Regions from separate parts of the Homo sapiens genome. Here regions 2, 3, 4, 5, 6 and 7 are each linked to region 1. Evidence: promoter capture Hi-C in 16 types of primary human blood cells and fetal thymus (Javierre and others, 2016). All regions are on one chromosome and are shown on one strand. The core of a region is centred on a gene start or on the middle of the fragment in contact, and the rest is flanking DNA. Distances in the headings are between cores, read along the strand shown.

The links. The method cuts DNA at HindIII sites, captures the fragments that hold promoters and counts their contacts. A CHiCAGO score of 5 or more calls a contact.
Region 2: a contact is called between a fragment that was not itself captured here and the fragment with the promoter of C1QTNF4 in region 1, in 2 of 17 cell types (M1 macrophages and erythroblasts). The highest score is 6.6, in M1 macrophages.
Region 3: a fragment that was not itself captured here is called in contact with the fragment with the promoter of C1QTNF4 in region 1 in 1 of 17 cell types (endothelial precursors); the score reaches 5.6 in endothelial precursors.
Region 4: a fragment that was not itself captured here is called in contact with the fragment with the promoter of C1QTNF4 in region 1 in 1 of 17 cell types (endothelial precursors); the score reaches 6.7 in endothelial precursors.
Region 5: a contact is called between a fragment that was not itself captured here and the fragment with the promoter of C1QTNF4 in region 1, in 2 of 17 cell types (M1 macrophages and megakaryocytes). The highest score is 7.5, in M1 macrophages.
Region 6: the fragment with the promoter of SLC39A13 here is called in contact with the fragment with the promoter of C1QTNF4 in region 1 in 5 of 17 cell types (M1 macrophages, endothelial precursors, erythroblasts and 2 more); the score reaches 8.6 in M1 macrophages.
Region 7: a contact is called between a fragment that was not itself captured here and the fragment with the promoter of C1QTNF4 in region 1, in 2 of 17 cell types (M2 macrophages and M1 macrophages). The highest score is 7.2, in M2 macrophages.

Annotation. Positions count from the first base shown.
Region 1 is chr11:47,593,013-47,595,712 of GRCh38, reverse strand. C1QTNF4 (C1q and TNF related 4) reads left to right here and starts at 1,302. Exons shown (of 2, transcript NM_031909.3): 1 at 1,302-1,565. The HindIII fragment of the contact is 4,016 bases long and covers 1-2,700 here.
Region 2 is chr11:47,753,582-47,756,281 of GRCh38, reverse strand. It overlaps FNBP4 (formin binding protein 4), which reads left to right. Exons shown (of 17, transcript NM_015308.5): 3 at 1,618-1,754. Among named protein-coding and RNA genes, the nearest start is that of FNBP4, 12 kb to the left of the region's middle. The HindIII fragment of the contact is 2,118 bases long and covers 257-2,374 here.
Region 3 is chr11:47,833,026-47,835,725 of GRCh38, reverse strand. NUP160 (nucleoporin 160) reads left to right here. Exons shown (of 36, transcript NM_015231.3): 7 at 1-75. Among named protein-coding and RNA genes, the nearest start is that of NUP160, 14 kb to the left of the region's middle. The HindIII fragment of the contact is 1,062 bases long and covers 863-1,924 here.
Region 4 is chr11:47,372,338-47,375,037 of GRCh38, reverse strand. The region is part of intron 2 of SPI1 (Spi-1 proto-oncogene); the gene reads left to right. Among named protein-coding and RNA genes, the nearest start is that of SPI1, 4.9 kb to the left of the region's middle. RefSeq lists an enhancer at 371-872. The HindIII fragment of the contact is 1,344 bases long and covers 744-2,087 here.
Region 5 is chr11:47,785,043-47,787,742 of GRCh38, reverse strand. NUP160 (nucleoporin 160) reads left to right here. Exons shown (of 36, transcript NM_015231.3): 32 at 1,189-1,290; 33 at 2,680-2,700. Among named protein-coding and RNA genes, the nearest start is that of FNBP4, 19 kb to the right of the region's middle. The HindIII fragment of the contact is 3,579 bases long and covers 1-2,700 here.
Region 6 is chr11:47,407,234-47,409,933 of GRCh38, reverse strand. It overlaps SLC39A13 (solute carrier family 39 member 13), which reads right to left and starts at 1,344. Exons shown (of 10, transcript NM_001128225.3): 1 at 1,272-1,344. SLC39A13-AS1 (SLC39A13 antisense RNA 1) reads left to right here and starts at 652. Exons shown (of 4, transcript NR_182308.1): 1 at 652-982. RefSeq lists enhancers at 1-84, 85-951, 1,240-2,062 and a silencer at 1,042-1,831. The HindIII fragment of the contact is 27,134 bases long and covers 1-2,627 here.
Region 7 is chr11:47,459,876-47,462,575 of GRCh38, reverse strand. No RefSeq gene overlaps it. Among named protein-coding and RNA genes, the nearest start is that of RAPSN, 12 kb to the right of the region's middle. The HindIII fragment of the contact is 8,567 bases long and covers 1-2,700 here.

The DNA of each region.
Region 1 (2,700 bases), core at 53-2,552:
GAAAGAGACAGTTGTGATCTGACAAGGGCTAGACAGGTGCTTCACCCTCTGTCACCAAATACCCTCATTATCCAGCCCAAAACACCTCCATTCATTCCTTTCTATTCTGGCACATATTCGTTAATTCATTCCATCATTCACCTAACACCCTTGAAGCAGAGCCAATCACCTCTACCAACATCTTCCTAGAGACAAATAGATTAACTGGGGTGGGGTAAACTTTGAGAGCTCCAAAAGGAAAGCTCCAGAGGACGGGGGTTCTGCAGGGGTCCAGGCCTCTCAGGGACCACAGAGCAGACCTGCAGCAGAGGCAGAATTAGAGCCCATGGCTCTGGAGTCAACCAGGGCCAGGCAGAGGGCACCAGCTCTTGGCTGCTGAAAGTAGAGCTCTTCAAAAGTCATCCACTCAGTCAGCATCTACTGAGTGCCAGGCAGTGTCGTCACCTCTACAGCCGTCAGGGGAGAGAACAGCAGCCTAGAGAAAGGGAGTCTGAGCCCCCATCCCACGGGCTCGAAGCCCAGAGTAGAGGCCAGCACTAGTGCCTCTGGTGAGTATTACCATGGGAAGACCGCTGTTCCCAGCCCGGGTGCCCTGCTGGACTCTTGCTAGCCTGGCCCCAGCGAGGCAGGGCATCAGTTTCCCTCTCCAGAGGCCTTTCTTCCCCACCTATTGCCCTCTCAATCCTGTCCCTTCTTGCAGGAGCAACCTTCCCAGCAGAAAATTCCATTCTGCCCCAAGGACTCTCCTCCTTACTGCCCCTCACCCCGGGGAACGCAGGCTGCCCCTCTGATGCCTGCAGACTCCCTTCTCCCTCTTTCCTAACCGACCGTGGGCATTTTCCAATTTGGAGGTGAGGAGGAAAAACTAGGTTATTTTCAGCTCTTCCTTTACTGGCAACATTGACCCATTTATCCTTCTCTTCCTTCAGACCTCTCCCCCAAGGCCACTTAGCTTGGACATCTGTCCCAGCCAAAATCTCACCTTCCACTGTCCTTGCAGCCCAAAGGCTAGTCCAGCCTCTGAGTCCAGCTCTAGCCCTCTCTCCCCACACTAGGAAGGAAGCTGGACTGTAGAGCGCTCTGGGCCACCCCGCGTTAGCTGCTGCCTCTGGCCTCAGTTTCCCCAACTGCTCAGATTAATGATGCCTGCTCTCTAGACCCAGAGGACGAAGCTCTAAGGAGGTCACAGATGAGGAAGGGTCCAGTGCTCGGCGCAGACTCCGTGCGGAGCCCCTAGGCCCCGCAGCTCGCCCCTCCCTCTCCCCTACTCCCCTCCTCTCCCCCTCCCGTCTCTCCCCCGCCTCTTCGCTCTCGCTCGGCTCCCTCTCTAGCTGACCTTCCCTTTCCCTCACGCCTCCCCACGCCCGGCCCCTGGCCCCAGCACCCTGTCCGCTGCCGCCTCAGAGCCGGGAAAAGCAGCCGGAGCCCCCGCCGCCCCTGCCGCAGCGCGGGCGGTCAGCGCGCAGCCCGGCACCCGCAGCCTGCAGCCTGCAGCCCGCAGCCCGCAGCCCGGAGCCAGATCGCGGGCTCAGACCGAACCCGACTCGACCGCCGCCCCCAGCCAGGTGAGGGCAGCTGAGGGGAGGCAGGGAGCCGAGGTTCCCCCTTTACTGGAAGCGAGGGCTGGGGAGGCGCGGGGAAATTGGGTCCTTTTTCCTTGAAAGGAGGACCTGGGAGCCTTTTCGTGAAACAGGCACAAGGGCTTTCATTCCAAAGGGATGGATGGATGGAGGGAAGGTCTCGGGGGAGAGGGATTGGTTTTTGTTTTTTAAAAATAAGGATTAATTGGCTTCTGTGAAAGTGGGACTTCTTGGAAGGATGAGGGGCTTTCAAGGTAGGTTGGGGAGGGGGCTCTGGCAGGGCTTGAGGGAAGGGTTAACTGGTGAGTGGCAGGGCAAGGGGGAACTCTGCGATCCCCTCAGCCTGACATCGCTGCACCTCCCGCCTTGGCTCCGGGGCTCTGGGTCTCTCCAGCTCTGTGTCCCAGTTTTTCTCTTTGAAGATGACTATTTTGAACCCCACCTGGACAGAGCCAGGAACAGCCATTTCCTTCCCTGGAGCTATGACACCCACCTGACACACCCTCCCACACCTCTGACCTGCTCAGGGAAGGGGGTTCAGGGAAGGACGAGGATCCAGGGATCTGGGAATTGGGCAGTGTGGGTGAAACGGAGGCTGGGTACTGGGTGCACAGGAAGACCCTTGGCACTGGTGGGGTGCACCAGCCTTGGTCAGGAGGTTGCTGGGCAGCTGCTTCTGGGGCAGGACCCACTAGGAAAGCAGCGGTATGGAAAAGCTGAGCTGTTTTCCGTGTTCCCAGAAGACAAAACACTAGAGAATGTGTTTGCTTGCTTTTGTTTGGTTTTGCTTTCTGTCTTCCTCACCCTGGATCCCAAGACTCATTCCTCTGATCTCCTCTCCTAGTTTTGCAAAAAGGTAAACTGAGGCACAGAACAAATTGGCTGGACATACCTGTGTCTAGGAGGGAAGAGTGACAGGAAGGCATACGGAATTTGAGTCAAAAAACCTCAGTGCTCCATGGGTGACCTTGGGCCAAAATGCTTTCCCTTGTTGGGCCTCAGCTTTCTCATCTATAAAATGGGAGACGGCCCACCTGTCTTGTAGGTTTGCCAAGACCATGTGTCTAAAAGAACTTTGTAAAAGGGAATGCACTGGACACTTGTGAGGTGCCATCTTCAC
Region 2 (2,700 bases), core at 66-2,565, 160 kb before region 1:
AACATTTTATGTGTTTATAATACATATAATAATACTCTATGTATTATATTGTTAATTGTAATCTTGGAGTAGCCACAGATGATCCAAAAGGAAATGGCATAGCAGCATTACAGAGGCCATACCTGATACCACTTAAATTTGAGGAAGACATTGATCATTGGTTTTAGCCATGTTGAGCCCCATTTTTAATTCCTGTCACTTCATGTTTTTAATTTCTGTCACTTCCTATTTGAGGAATAATCATTGATTAAAAGCTTCGTTTTTAACTTTGAAAGTCTTTATTTCTTTAGTTTTTGAAAGTCTTTGTTTCAGCTGCTACACTGTAATTGGCTCAGTTTGAAGTAAACACTTTAATCACCAAATTCTAAAATCAAGATATACTATCTATGAACAATTTGGAAAGAGAGTGAGATTGAATAATTGATTGAAATAACTATGCAGATTAATTTTCTTGTTCTCGATTTTTTTTGTTTTTGTTTTTTTTTTGGAGACATGGTCAGTCTCACTTTGTCACCCTGGCTGGAGTACAGTGGAGATGTTTCGGCTTAATGCAGCCTCAACCTCCTGGGCTCAAGCTATCCTTGCACCTCAGCCGTATGCTCGGCTAAATTTTTATTCTTTTTCCTTTTCCCTTTTTTTTTTTTTTGTTTTTGTTTTTATGGGATAGACAAGGTCTCACTATGTTTTCGAGGCTGGTCTCAGATTCTGGGCTCAAATGATCTTCCTGCCTCAGATCCTCCCGAAGAAGTTGGGTCTGTAGACATAAGCTGTGTTGCCTGGCTCATAGATCAACATGTTTTTTTATTTTTTATTTTATTTATTTATTTATTTTGAGACGGATTTTCACTGTTGTTGCCCAGGCTGGAGTGCAGTGGCGTGATCTCAGCTCACCGCAACCTCCGCCTCCCGAGTTCAAGCAATTTTTCTGCTTCAGCCTCCTGAGTAGCTGGGATTACAGGCATGTGCCACCACACCTGGATAATTTTGTATTTTTAGTAGAGACAGGGTTTCTCCATGTTGGTCAGGCTGGTCTTGAACTCCTGACTTCAGGTGATCTGCCCGCCTCAGCCTCCCAAAGTGCTGGGATTACAGGTGTGAGCCACCATGCCCAGCCCAGATCAATTTTTTTTTTTTTTTTTTAACCCCCGGAGACAGAGTCTTACTCTTTTGCCCAGGGTGGAGTGCAGTGGCGTGATCTTGGCTCACTGCAACCTCTGCCTCCCAGGTTCAAGCACTTCTCCTGCCTCACTAGCTGGGACTACAGGCACGTGCTACCAGGCCTGGCTAATTTTTTGTATTTTTAATAGAGATGGGGTTTCACCATGTTGCCCAGGCTGGTCTCAAAACGCCTGACCTCATGATCCACCCACCTCGGCCTCCCAAAGTGCTGGGATTACAGGCGTTGAGCCACTGCACCAGGCCTATAGATCAATTTTTATTAGCTTTAACCATACGATGTAATTTATTCTTCTGTGGTAGTTCAGTGATTATTAGTTTTGCGGTTATGTTCTAATCTGTAAGTAAGTTTAAAAAAAACATGTTATACTTCCGCTTTAGATGCTTCTTAGGACATATTGACATTGTTGTTACAAATACTGTTTACCTTTTTGTTTCTAGGCGGTCTATGCTTGCTTGGTGCTTATGCTGACAGTGATGACGATGACAATGATGTTTCCGAAAAACTAGCACAATCCAAAGAGACAAATGGAAACCAGTCAACTGATATTGATAGTACATTGGCCAACTTCCTAGCGGTTAGTGGTGCTTTCGTTTGGAGTTTTAGTTACTGAAGCTACTTTGGGACCTGGATCTTAAGTGGTCAGCGTACTTGTCAGTTCAATGTCTTCCTCCTCCTTTCTCCCTCTCCCTCCAACACTCTCTTGTATTTCTCCCGATCTCTATCTCTCTTTTTGTTTTGTTTTGTTTAACTTTAAGAGATGGGGTCTCACTGTGTTGCTCAGGCTGGTCTTGAACTCTTGGGCTGAAGCGATCCTCCCACCTCGGCCTTCCAAAGTGCTGGGATTATAGGTGTGAGCCATCACACCTGGCTGTCTCTCCTTTTTTTTTTTTTTCTTGAGATAGAATCTCACTCTGTTGCCCAGTCTCGAGTGCAGCGGTACGATCTCGCCTCACCGCAACCTGTCTCCTGGGTTCAAGTAGCTGAGGCTACAGGTATGTGCACCCGAGTAGCTGGGGCTACAGGTATGTGCCACCACACCCAGCTGATTTTTGTATTTTTGGTAGAGACGGGGTTTCACCATGTTGGCCAGGCTGGTCTCAAACTCCTGACCTCAGGTGATCAACCCACCTCGGCCTTCCAAAGTGTTGGGATTACAAGCGTGAGCCACCACCTCCCTTTTCTTTTTGTAAAGCTTTCAAAGAGAAGAAAGGCAAATTAGAAGAGACTGGGGAGCTTGTATAATTGGAAGATGAGGGTTTTGATTTGAGAAGCTTAGAATGAGTATCTAGAATTTTTTTTTTCTCCCTCGAGACTGGGTCTTACTGTCACCCAGGCTGAAATGTGGTGGCGTGATGTTGGCCCACTGCAACCTCTGCCACCCAGGTTCAAGTAATTCTCCCACCTCAGCCTCTTGAGTAGCTGGGATTACAGGCATGTGCCACCACGCCCGATAATAATTGTATTCTTTTTTTTTTGTTTTTTGTTTTTTTTGAGACAGAGTCTTGCTCTTTCACCCAGGT
Region 3 (2,700 bases), core at 144-2,643, 240 kb before region 1:
AAATTACGGCTTGCTTATTCCCCCACCATGGGACTCTACCTGGGGATATACATGCATGCACCAAAACGAGGACAGGTATGAAACAAATAAGACACATACCAAGTTATTCTGTGTGTACTGATGTGGAGAAATGGCTGTAGACTCAGTGAGTCTGTTCAAGCTCTTTTCACCGACCTAGATGTGTTTCTGAGGTGATGGTTGGGTTTCGTGCTACTATGTGAATTAGAAGATCTTGAAGGAGGGGTCAGTATGAAAGGAAGTAGAGAGTTTAAAGTAACATGAAAGGAAAAGTTAACAGAAACTAAACAAGAAGAGCAAATTAGGAGTTCTAGGTGAAAAAACAGAATTCCTGAAAGGGATGTAGGTGTTATGTGGTGTTAAGTTAATTTTTCTAAATAAATTTGCTTAGCATCCAGACAGTAGCTGCTGTCTGTAGATGAGATACGTAGGATGTGATGTAATAGTGTAATCATTTAATAAACAGCCATTTGTTGAGCATTGTGTGTTTGGTGCTGTGCCAGTCCCTTTATGCACATTAATAATAGCAGACACTGGGATTGTGCTTACTCTGGGCTCATATGCTATATGCGTTTTATCCATTTAATCCTAATAACAGCCCAGTGAGGTAGGGTCTGTCTCCCTTACTATGCAGGAGCTCTGATTCCCCCACTGAGTCCCCACGCTAGGCCACTGCCCTTCCTGGATGCCCTTCTCACTTCTGTTGGGATCTCATAGCCCACTCCACATTGCTCCTCCAATGTGGGTGCCCTCCTTACCCTGTTTGGGCCCTGAGACCACCAGACTGCCCCCATGCAATGGACCTCCTCCTCACCCAACCTGAGTTTCCATCCTGCACCAAGCTTTCTGTCCATGTGGAAGCCATCTCAAACTGTTCGTGCTCCTCCCCCCGAAGTCAGGCAGTCCCAAATGTGGACAGTCTTCTTATGTCCCTAGGCTCTTGCCTCATCACACCTGGCCATATCACCCCTGCATGCACGCCCTTCTCACTCACTAGTGTTCTCACTCCTGTGCTGGGACATGCCTGCACCGATGTTCTCTTCAACCTGTTCAGACTGACTCCTTATGCCGAACCCCAACCCCCCAGGTCCCCGACCCTTACCTTCTGGCCAGCAAGGATATCTACCTTGCTCTAGGTTTTTAGATTGGATTGCTCAGGAACAGAATGGAAGGGAAGAGGAAGAGCTCATTCTTGCAGTTTTTTCCTAATATGGCCCAAAAGTATCATGCTATCAAGACATTTATCTTGATTGCACATAATTGTTCTATTCTCTCTTCTGGAGGACAACCCTTGAACTATTTGAACATACCTATCCATCTCCTCTAAGTATACTCTTCTCTGCATGTAGGTTGTGGGTGGTAGGAGAATTGACCCTGCTCTAACTTCCTTAGTTCCTTCCATTGTTATTCATGTAACATCCTGTTGATCAGTCTCCTCGACATGTTACAATTAGTTTGTCACACTAAAATAGTGGTTCTCAAACTTTTGGTCTCGGGACCCTATTATACTCTTACCGAGAACTGCAAAGAGCTTTTGTTTATATGGGTTATACCTATAATTTATTAGAAATTAAAACTGGCTGGATGTGGATTGACACATTTTATATTATGCAGTATCTAAATTACTGTTTTGGGGGGTAATCCCCAAGACCACCTCACCTCCATGTCCAGTAATACTCTGAAAGGACTCATAGGGCTCAGTATGTAGTTGTGCTGACAGCTAAAATGTATTACAGTGAAAAGATACAAAGCAAAGTGAAAAAAGGGAAAAGGCACATGGAGTGAAGTCTGAAGCCAGACACAATCGTCTAAGAGTCCCCTCCCAGTAGAGTCTCACAGGACATGCTTAATTCTTCCAGCACTGAATTGTGATGATGTGTGTAAAATGTTGTTTCCCAGGAAAGCTTGCTAGAGGCACAGTGCCCACCATATTGGCCAGGCTGGTCTCGAACTCCTGACCTTGTGATCTGCCCACTTCGGCCTCCCAGAGTACAAGCAAGACTTTCTAAGGAGAGCAGCCTCAGGCCTGCTATGTTAACCCTTTCTGCACAACTATTATCATTGATGATATTATCATTGGTGATCACTCAGAAGAGCCTTGAGAAGCTCTGGAGTTCATGTTAGTGGATACGAAGTTTTCTGAAATCATAGTTTTCACTTTAAAACTTGAAATGTATCATTGGCAACAAATACTGTCATTTGTTTTCCCTGAAATGACAGGTTCACTTTATTCTTTTTTTTTTTTCTTTTGTGATGGAGTTTGGCACTCTTGTCACCCAGGCTGGAGTGCAGTAGCGTGACCTCAACTGACTGCAACCTCTGCCTCCTGGGTTCAAGCAATTCTCCTTCATCAGCCTCCACAGTGGCTGGGATTACAGGTACCTGCCACCATACCCGGCTAATTTTTTGTATTTTTAATAGAGATGGGGTTTCACCATGTGGGCCAGTCTGGTCTCGAACTCCTGACCTCAGGTGATCCACCCGCCTCAGCCTCCCAAAGTGCTGGGATTACAGGTGTGAGCCACCACGCCCAGCCTATTCATTTATTTAAACAGCTTTCTTGAGATGTAATTCACTCACCCATTTAAAGTATACCATTCAATGAGTTTTAGTATATCCACAGATACGAGCAACCATTACCATAGTCAACTTTAGAACATTTCCATCACCTCAAAAAGAAAC
Region 4 (2,700 bases), core at 166-2,665, 220 kb after region 1:
CATGACAACCAAAAATGTCTCCACCCATTGGCAGATCCCCCCGGGAGGCAAAATCACCCCTAATTGGGAACTGCTGGGCCGAAGGAAAACCTATGAGAACCTCTTGTTCAGCAGAGGCCGAGGCCCCCAGTTTGCTGAAGTGGGAGGAAGAGGCCTGGGCCAGGGTGTCCTTCTGTCTGTCCAGTCCTTCTGGGTCTGACTGTCTGCCCCATAGCCCAGCCTCCGTCCTGGAGCAAATTCAGGGGATGGGAGAGAGGCATTAGGTGCCTGGGACCTGAGCAGGGGGCTGCGGGAGGTTGCCCAAAGTGGATCTTGGCTTATTGATGTAGACATCCCTGACCCAAAGCGAGGTGGCCTAGTCAGTGGGTGAGTCGTCACTGGGGAATTCCTCAGGGCGTCTGGGACCCGGGCAGACCAGCGACTGGGGTGTCTGCACCTCAGAGGGCAGAGGCCCACAGCCTAGGAAGGTGTCACTCCTGAAGGCCACCCCTGCGGCCAGTCATGCCTGTAGCTCCATTCTGCAGATGCACCTGTGGCGGTCTAAACCTGATGGGCCCAGCTAGGGATCCACATGTGCCTGGTCCACATTTAGGGCCCCAGATTCATCCGGAACTCAGACTGGAAGCCATATCCCAGGGGTAGGCGGATATGCCTCCAGGCCACAGCTGGGAACGCACAGGCATCTTTTAGAATCTTTCAGGGCTAGAAAGCCTTTAAAATATCCTTTTTAATTCCTTCAAGCTTATTTGTAATTATGTAAAAAACACATCCTCTTGGTGGGAAACCCAGGCAATGTAGAGAGAAAGTCCCCCTCCCCCAACTCCATCCCCAGCTCTCCCTACCAGAGTGAAGAGCCCGGTCTGGGGGACCCAGAGACCACGCACCCACCTTCCCAAGCGGTTCCAGGACTCCAGGAGGTCCCGCTGGGCCCTGGGACAGGCGCCCCCTGGTGGCTCGGGTCACCACAGACAGTGCTGTCAGGCCTCCTCCAACAAGGACGCATTCTCCCTGGCCCAATCCCTCTTCAGTTCACTGGGCTTGGGTGCGTTTCCTTTGGGCCTTTTGCAGCCTCAGTTTTCCTTCCTGTAATATGAGGGCGCTGCCCACATAGCTGGAAACCAGTGAGCCTGGGGCTGGGCCTGATGGAGTGAGCACTTTAGAGAAAGCATGTGTTTTCGTGGCTCAGGGTCCAAGCAGGTTCCTTATATCTCAGGTGGGACTCTAGGAATGACTCCTGATTGGATGCCTGGGCACCCCATGTTGGTCATGAACCCCTAGTTCCTCCAGAGACTCCACCAGTGTTCCCAGGTGTCCTCGGCCTTGGCTCTGTCCCACTCTTAATCACTGCCAATCAGGGCATTTGGGCTGTCCTTTTCTTTTTTTTTTTTTTTTAGGACAGTCTTGCTCTGTTGCCCAGGCTAGAGCGCAGTGGCCCAATCTTGGCTCACTGCAACCTCCGCCTCCTGGGTCCAAGCGATTCTCTTGCCTCAACATCCCAAGTAGCTAGGATTACAATCGTGCACTACCATGCCTGGCTAATTTTTGTATTTTTAGTAGAGATGAGGTTTTACCATGTTGGCCAGGCTGCTCTCAAACTCCTGACCTCAAGTGATCCACTTGCCTCGGCCTCCCAAAGTGCTGGGATTACAGGTGTGAACCACCGCGCCCAGTCTGTCCCTTTTTTTTGATACGGAGTCTCGTACTGTCGCCCGGGCTGGTGTGCAGTGGCACAATCTTGGCTCACTGCAACCTCCGCCTCCCGGATTCAAGCGATTCTCCTGCCTCAGCCTCCCAAGTAGCTAGGATTACAGGCGCCTGCCACCACGCTCAGCTAATTTTTTGTATTTTTAGTAGAGACAGGGTTTCACTATGTTGGCCAGGCTGGTCTCGAACTCCTGACCTGGTGATCCGCCTGCCTCAGCCTCCCAAAGTGCTGGGATTACAGGCGTGAGCCACTGCGCCCGGCCGGGCTGTCCCTTTTTATACCCGCTGGAAGGTATCGTCTGAAGACTCAACCATAGAGACCCCCACACACTTCTGTCAATTCCTGCACGTCCTCTTTGTCCACATTTTTAGGTACTGAAGCTTAGTGAAAAAGCTTTGGCCCAGCCCTGGCTCCATCACTTACCAGCTGTGAAAACTTGGGGCAAGTAACATAACCTTTCTGAGTCCCTATTTCCCCATTTATAAAACTGACAGCATGAAAATACTTACCTCCTAGGGCTGTGATGATTCAGCGAGGTAAGGCATATAATCTCTGAGGTAAGGTAACGTGCAGAGGACGAGGCCCGTGCTAGCTTCACTGCATTCCTCAAGGCAGGAGGGACAAAGCGGCTGGGGAGTGGGAAAAGCACAGAGGGCTCTGTGAGAGACCAACTGGGTTATTTTCCACTGACCCAGGGGACAGTCAATCTGCCACCCACCCCCACATCCATGCACTCACCCTCCCATCCACCCACCTACTCGTCCATCCTGCCAGCCGCTTCCCATCTGATCCACTTTTCCTCCCTATTCCATCCATTAAATAGTTTCTGAGTATCAGACACTCTTGTAGGCTCTGGGGAGTCCATGATGAGCACCAGACAAGGCCACTGCTCTCACAGAGCTCACTCTCCAGCGAGGGGATGGGGACATAAGGAATTAAATAGGCTGGGGCGTGGTGGCTCATGCCTGTAATTTCAGCATTTTGGGTGGCTGAGG
Region 5 (2,700 bases), core at 66-2,565, 190 kb before region 1:
CTGTCTCAAAAAAAAGAAGAAGAATTTCTTGGCCAGGCACAGTGGCTCACATCTGTAATCCTACTAATACTTTGGGAGGCTGTGGCGGGTGGATCGCTTGGGACCAGCCTGGCCAACATGGTGAAACCCTGTCTCTACTAAAAATACAAAAATGAGGGTGTGGCACACAACAGTAATTTCAGCCTCTCAGGAGGCTTAGGCACAAGAATCTCTTGAACTTGGGAGGCAGAGGTTGCAGTGAGCTGAGATCGCGCCTCTGCACTCGAGCCTGGGCAACAAAGCAAGACTCTGTTTCAAAAAAAAAAAAAAAAAAAGTTTGTGAATTAGAAATAATTTTGAACTTTCAGAATTTTTCAGCCAGGTGCAGTGGCTTACGCCTGTAATGCCATCACGTTGGGAGGCCAAGGTGGGCAGATCACTTGAGGTCAGGAGTTCAAGACCTGCCCGGCCAACATGACGAAACCCCATCTCTACTAAAAATACAAAAGTTAGCCAGGAGAGGTGGCGTGTGCCTGTAATCCCAGCTACTTGGGTGGCTAAGGCAGGAGAATCGCTTGAGCCTGGGAGACGGAGGTTACAATGAGTTGAGATTGCGCCACTGCACTCCAGCCTGGGCAACAGAGCGAGACTCCATCTTAATTTAAAAAAAAAAAGAGGCCAGGTGCGGTGGCTCATACCTGTTATCCCAGGACTTTGGGAGACCTAGGCGGGCGGATCATGAGGTCAGGAGATCAAGACCATCCTGGCTAACACAGTGAAACCCCGTCTCTACTAAATATACAAAAAATTAGCCAGGCATGGTGGCATGGGCCTGTAGTCCCAGCTACTCAGGAGGCTGAGACAGGAGAATCACTTGAACCTGGGAGGCAGAGGTTGCAGTGAGCTGAGATTGCACCACTGCACTGCAGCCTGGGTGACAGAGCAAGACTCCATCTCAAAAAAAAAGAAAAGAAAAAAGAATTTTTCATCATTAATTTTATCTTGGAAGTAAATTGTCTCTTAATGCTTACTCATGTTCTTGTAGGTATCCAGTTGTGTAACTTGAGGAAGAGATGAGCCAATATTCCAGTAGTGAATTCAGCAAAAGACTAGAGATGAAGTTGTCATCTATCTCTCTAGTTTTAGTATCAAATTAAAGTGGTACGTTTCAGCGTTCAGTTTTCAAGTGTGGAACCATTTTCATTCCAGATGCATCAAATTGCAATTTGGAGGAGAGGCAGCACAAGCAGAAGCCTGGGCCTGGCTAGCAGCCAATCAGCTCTCATCTGTCATCACTACTAAGGAGTCTAGGTACAACCCTGGTGTTCAACCCTGGGTAGTTTTGCCTTTCTAAAAGCTGTAACTGTCTTTCTCTGACTAAATTGTCCTACATAGATCATTTCACTTTTTTCTTTCTTTTTGGCTAAGTTTTTATAGGGGCTGGAAAGTTTATAATTAAGGTGACATCATGTCATTTATTGTCCAAACTAGGATGTCTTTGCCTATGAAATGTCTCCTTCTCCATATCCCCCTCCTCAAAGACTTACTGTTTCATATCAGGAAAGGGTACTCTTACAGGCAAAAATCTGTATTTACTTGTTTCGGAGTGTTATCCTCCTTTTTTCCCCCATTTCTTCCACTGAGCAGTCACTGCATGGTTTCATCACAGTGTCCTCTTATATCTTGTCTCCAGCTGCTGTTCAGCAGTCTGTCACCCATCAGCCCCCATCATCCACTATACCTTCTTCAGATCTCCTCTGGTTCGTATACTTCCCCAGTGCACCCACTTTGTGTCCACGTAAATATACTTCAGCTTCTTCAGAAACCTTCTCTAACATTCCTAACCCTCAGTAAACTTCCCTTTCTGAACTGCATTTGCACTTGGTATTATACAGCTTAGCACTTTAGAGTGATAGCACTTTAGAATTTGGAAGTTCTCTGACATTAGTTTTCAACCCCTAAATTAGCACATCAGAATAACTTATTAAAATACAGATTATGAGAAATCACCCTAGTCTTCTAAGTTAGAACTTCTGCATGATTCTAATGCTTGATCAGGTTTGAGAACCAGTGTTCTGAACCAGTTTCTTGTTTTAGAAATGCAGAAACAAAGGAGTTAAATGAATTATGCATTAATAGCCAAACAAATAACGTTCATTTACTAAATATGTTTGTTTACTAAATACTAAATACGTTAGTGGGAGAGGAATATACGAACCCAAGACATCTAGTTTCTAGTGCTATCCCCATAAGTCACATTAGCCCAAATAATATTTGTTCCCATTTAGCTATATTATTGATTCAGTTGTTAATTTCTAAAGTTTTCCTTGTAAGGCTGGGCATGGTGACTCCTGCCTGTAATCCCAACACTTAGGGAGGACAAGGTCAGAGGATCACTTTAGCTCTGGAGTTTAATACCAGCGTGGACAACATAGCAAGTCCTTGTCTCTACAAAACATAAACAAAATTAGCTGGGCATAGTGGTGCATGCCTGTATTCCCAGCTATTTAGGAAGCTGAAATGGGAGAATCTGGGGCTGAGGCTGCAGTGAGCTGAGATCACACCACTCCACTCTAGCCTGGGTGACAGAGCAAGACCCTGTCTGAAAAAAAAGTTTTCCTTGTAAATACATGCTTTGAATGGTACTCTAAATAGCTATTAAGAATCTGAAACTCATTAGTCATTTTTGTTTTTTTCAAGTGCTACAGATGAAGCATGGCG
Region 6 (2,700 bases), core at 95-2,594, 190 kb after region 1:
CAGCAATGGGGCCCTGTGTCTCCACACCCTACTCCTGAGCACTGCGTATTTTTTCCTTCTGAGCAGCTCCAGACTGTGTCAGCACCTCCGCCTGAGGCTAAACTTTCCCTAATGACAGGGTGAGGCGCTGGCTGGCTCTCCTCAGCCACCGGCGGCACGGCCCGGCCCAGCTGGGTGTCTCTGGCTGCCAGGGGAGGCCCTGCCGCCCGCGACACCCCAGAGACTGAGGCACCCCTTCTAAGGGGATGGGGTGGATTCAGAGAGACATACGTGGGGAAACTGAGCAGATGAGCCAGGGCAAGACCATCCACGCTTCTTCCTAGGACATGAGACCAATGTCCCCAGGGCACTGAGGGCAACAGGAGATGGGGCTGATGAGGAAGGAGCCTTTAGCCAGGGGATGCCTCTCTCTTGTATAGCGCAGGCTTTAGAGCCCCCACGGTGAATTCTATGCTGCACTTTGAGCTGTCTAACTCTGGGCAAATCTCTGAAGCCCCCCCTCTGAGCCTCAGTGCCCTCATCTGCAGGACAGGGATCAATATCACCTGCCTCAGCTGTGAGGACGAGATAAGCCTGAAAGTGCAGGTGGATGTACCCGGCATGAGGAGGCGCAGAGGCCCTGCCTGTGCCAGGGAAGGCCTGGGGCTCCCTGCAGCAGGAATGTGCCCAGCCGGCCGATCACAGGATGTGGACGTGAGTCAACCAAGCGAGAAGTTCCATCTGGAAACTCGGGCATGAGGTTTAAATGTGGTCTGCTCTGCCTCAGGCTGGCTGTGACCTTGAGCTGGTGATGTCCCTGCCTCAGTTTCCTCACCTTCTGATGGAGATGGGAGGGGAAGAAAGCAGCTGCCTCTGGGTGGTGGCAGAGATGCCCATGTCTAGGACCTCCAGGCCTTAACTAATCAGGGGCACTGATGAAGCCAGCGGGGCTCCACTGGGGACCACAGGCAAGACTGGGCCAGGACGAGGCGGTCACGCAGAGGTGAGGGGACCACAGGCTAGCGGGAGGGAATACACGGAGAGTCCAAGGGGAGAGGAAAGTAGAGAGTGAGAGAGCTAGAGAGAGGCGGGTGGGACGCGGAGAGGACAGCGAGGGAGGGATGGGGCGTGGGGCGCGGAGCGATGGGGGAGAGGAGGCCGAAGCGGGCGAGCCTGACTCCCGGGTCCTGGGAGCCGGCCCAGGTCTGATGAGGACCAGTCGGACGGGGCGAGGGATCGGCCGGGTCCATCACGCCCGGGGCGCGGGCCCCGAGGGTCCTGCTGGCACTCACCGTGCGGCGGCGGCGGCGGCGATCCGGGCGGCCCCAGCCATCCAGCTGCGGTGCCGCGCCCCGCCCAGGCTCTGCCCCGCCCGGCCGCCCGGCCGCCCGGCCCCCGGCCCGGGGCCGCCCCCGGCGCGCGGCCACGTCACAAGGGGCCTGTCCGGAACCCGAGGCGCCGCGTGCCGCGGGGTCGGGGGGAGTGGCGGCGGGAGGGCGCTTCCGCCTCGCGGCGGTGGGGGACCCGGGTAGAGGGCGCACTTCCGTTTGGGCAGGGCTGCGGGCCGGAGGGGAGGGTCGGTCGGAAGTGAGAGAGCCACACGCACCGCGCTCAGCCAGGCTGGGCAGGGACGGAAGCGGCGGCTCTGCGGGGACCGCGATCGACCAGGCTGCGGGGCTTGCGGATCTGGCCGCCGCTTCCCGTCCAGGGCCGCAGTCTGCCCGTGGCCGCACGGGGGCGCGCCCGGCCGCCAGACCACGCCGCCCAGGTCGGGCTGGGAGGACTACTGTGCGCTCCTGCTCTGAGTCAGCCCGGCCTGGCTCCTCCATGAGCAAGGGAAAGGGGAAGTGCCTGCCGCAGGGAGGGGCCTGGCCCCGGGAACCTCAGAAGAGGGAATTTTATTCTTACTCATCGAATTATTTTTATGCTTTGGTTTTTCACTGGGAACCTCAGGCCACTGTCTCCAGGGCTTGTAACCCTTTGGGGTCCAATGCATGGTGGCTGGACCCTGCTGATGGGAACTCCAAACCTGGGAGGCGAGGGCTCTGTGCTTCCCTCACCTGGAGGAAGCTAGACCTGACCTCTTTGGTTAGACTAAGGCAGCAAACACTGGATAGCAGTTCTTATAACCGCAATTTACTGACCACCTACTATGTGCTATTCACTTTACTCGCACTATCTCACTGAATCCTCATATTATCCCATTGTGGTGGGTACTGTTAGCCCAGGGTCACACAGTGGCACAGATGGCAGAGCCAGGATTCAAACCTGGGTGTCCTGAAGCCAGAGTATGTGATACCACTTCTCACGTCTAGGTCCTGAACAGCAGTGGGAGTCTGGCTTGGCGTTTCGAGTTTGTATTCTTCTCTGGAAATCAGCCAGTACAGGAGAAGATTCAGGAAGGGGCATGTGGGTACTCACTTGGGCAGAGATAGCGACTGAGTACAGGTCTCTTAAGTCTCTGACCCTCATCAGCCTCCCATGGCAGCTCCAACCATTTACTCTGTCACTTTCCCCTCTGCTGGGGCTCTTGAGAGCACACTCAGCTCTCAGGGCTGCCTCTGGTGCCTGTCCCACTTCATGTTGCACTGTTGGCCTTCCTTAGACCGCCAACTTCTCCCTGGTGGCCCAGCTTGTCTTCTGAAGCTTTCTGTCCATCTCACCCCACCGGGCCCATACAACTGCCAGGACGTTCTGTTCCCTCCCTGAGTTCCAAAATGG
Region 7 (2,700 bases), core at 122-2,621, 130 kb after region 1:
CTGCAGCCTCCACCTCCCAGGCTCAAGCAACTCCCTTGCCTCAGCTTCAGGCATGTGCCACCACATTCGACTAATTTTTTGTATTTTTAGTAGAGACAGGGTTTCACCATGTTAGCCAGGCTGGTCTCAAACTCCTGGCCTCAAGTTGATCACCCACCTTGGCCTCCCAAAGTGCTGGGATTACAGACATGAGCCACCTCGCCCGGCCAATGTTTTGTATTCTTTGAAAACCTCTTCATCCTTCTGTAGCTTGCTCAACACCTACTTTTTGCCACATTCCTGTTCATCTGGCTGGCAGAGGCACCTCCGCACTGACTTTCTCGGTCAGCACACAGCTTCCCTAATGCTCACATACTATGCTCACCTGAGCAGCTCGGTCCCTGATGAGGAAAAAGCCACCAGGCTGGAAATTAAACACCAGGTTGTGCCTGCACCTCAGGGAATGTCAGACTAATGTTTGATAATATTTCCCTTCAGGAGAGATCGGAGCTGGACTTGCCTTGCACCTTGTGCCTTCAAGCATTTTCCTTCCTTCTCAGGAGTCCTTTCCAACCCCCACCATCTGGTGTTTAATTGCTTTTGCATGCATTGACTTTCTCTGTACTGGTTGAAGGCTCCAGCTATAGGGAAGGCTTTTGTTTTTTAAAAATTCAAGGCAGGTCGGGCGCGGTGGCTCACTCCTGTAATCCCAACACTTAGGGAGGGCAAGGCAGGCAGATCAGTTGAGTTCAGGAGTTGAAGACCAGCAGTGCTAGCATGGTGAAACCCTGTCTCTACCAAAAATACAAAAATTAGCTGGGCATAGTGGCGGGCACCTGTAATCCCAGCCACTCGGGAGGCTGCGGCAGGAGAATCTCGAACCCGGCGGGCGGAGGTTGCAGTGAGCCAAGATCATTCCGCTGCATTTCAGTCTGGGCGACAGAGTGAGACTCCCATCTCAAAAATAAATTGAAGGCAGCCTTGGGATGGGAAATTGAACTCACACAACCAGGAAGGGCTTTCCCGCAGTCCCCGACACTTTCCAGGCCCAGGTCTTGGCCTGCTCTACCCAAGGTTTTTCCATTAGTGGGGATGGGTCTTACTAATCTGAGTCCTCTTGAGATTTGGGTTGTATTTAAACGGCTTTATTGCATGACGTGGTGGCTCATGCCTGTAATTCCAGCACCTTGAAAGACCAAGGTCGGTGGACCACTTGAGGCCAGGAGTTCAAGACCAGCCTGGCCAATATAGCGAAACCCCTTCTCTACTAAAAATAAACCAGGCATGGTGGCGCATGGCTGTAATCCCAGCTACTCAGGAGGCTGAGGCACAAGAATTGCTTGAACCCAGGAGGCGGAGGTTGCAGTGAGCAGAGATTGTGCCACTGTCCCAGCCCAGGGAACAAAGTGAGACCGAGACCCTGTCTCAAGAAAAAAATAATAAACAGGTTTATTGAGATATAATTCACACACAACACAACTCATCCACTTAAAGCATACCATTCACTGAGTTTCAGAGTTGTGCAACCATGAATGCAGCCTAATTTTAGAACATTTTCAGAACCCTGTACTCATTTAGCAGTCACTCCCCATCCTCTCCCTCACTCCCTTTCCCATTTCCTAGTAACCACAAATATACCTCTGTCTGTATCTTTACTGGTTCTGGACATTTCATTAAAATACAGTCATGGGATATGTGGCCTTTTGTGTCTGGCCTTCACTTAGTCAACATCCTGAGGTATTTTCTCCTTTCTTCCTCCTACTTGAAAGCTAGTGGCAGCACCCACTGCCTTGTGGCACCTGCTCCTGCCATCCCTCATCCTTCTGAGCTTGTCTGCTCCCAATCCAGCCTTGTTTCTGCAGCTCTCCCAGCTCCTCTTTCTGGTTGCCGATATTATCTGCCTCAGCCTGAATCTGGAAGGCTTCTAGACTCACAGTTGTCCAATACAGTTACCCACTAGGCACTGTAGCTTTTTTTGTTTAAATAACTAAATATGGGCCCAGCCAGTGGCTCACCTTACCTCTCCATGCCTGTAATCCCAGCGCTTTGGGAGGACGAGGCAGGCGGATCACTTGAGGTTGGGAGTTTGAGACCAGCCTGACCGACATGGAGAAACCCCGTCTCTACTAAAGATACAAAATTAGCCCCGCGTGGTGGTGCATGCCTGTAATCTCAGCCACTCGGGAGGCTGAGGCAGGAGAATTGCTTGAACCCGGGAAGTGAAGGTTGTGGTAAGCTGAGATCATGCCATTGCACTCCAGCCTGGGCAACAAGAGCGAAACTCCCTCTTAAAATAACAAAAATGTAGTACCTCGGTTTCACTAGCCACATTTCAAGTGACTGGTGGCTATCCTATTGGACAGTGCCGATACAAAACATTTCCATCATCACAGGCAGTGGCAGGACTGTTCTAGACAGTTTGCTGTTTTTGTTTGTTTGCTTGTTTGTTTTTGAGATGGAGTCTCACTGTTGCCCAGGCTGGAGTGCAGTGGCAGGATCTCGGCTCACTGCAGCCTCTGCCCTCTGGGTTCAAGCAGTTCTCCCGCCTCAGCCTCCCGAGTAGCTGGGACTACAGGCACCTGGCATCACACCTGACTAATTTTTCTATTTTTAGTAGAGACGGGGTTTTACCATGTTGGCCAGGCTGGTCTCGAACTCCTGACCTCAGGTGATCCGCCCACCTCAGCCTCCCAAAGTGCTGGGATTACAGGCGTGAGCTAC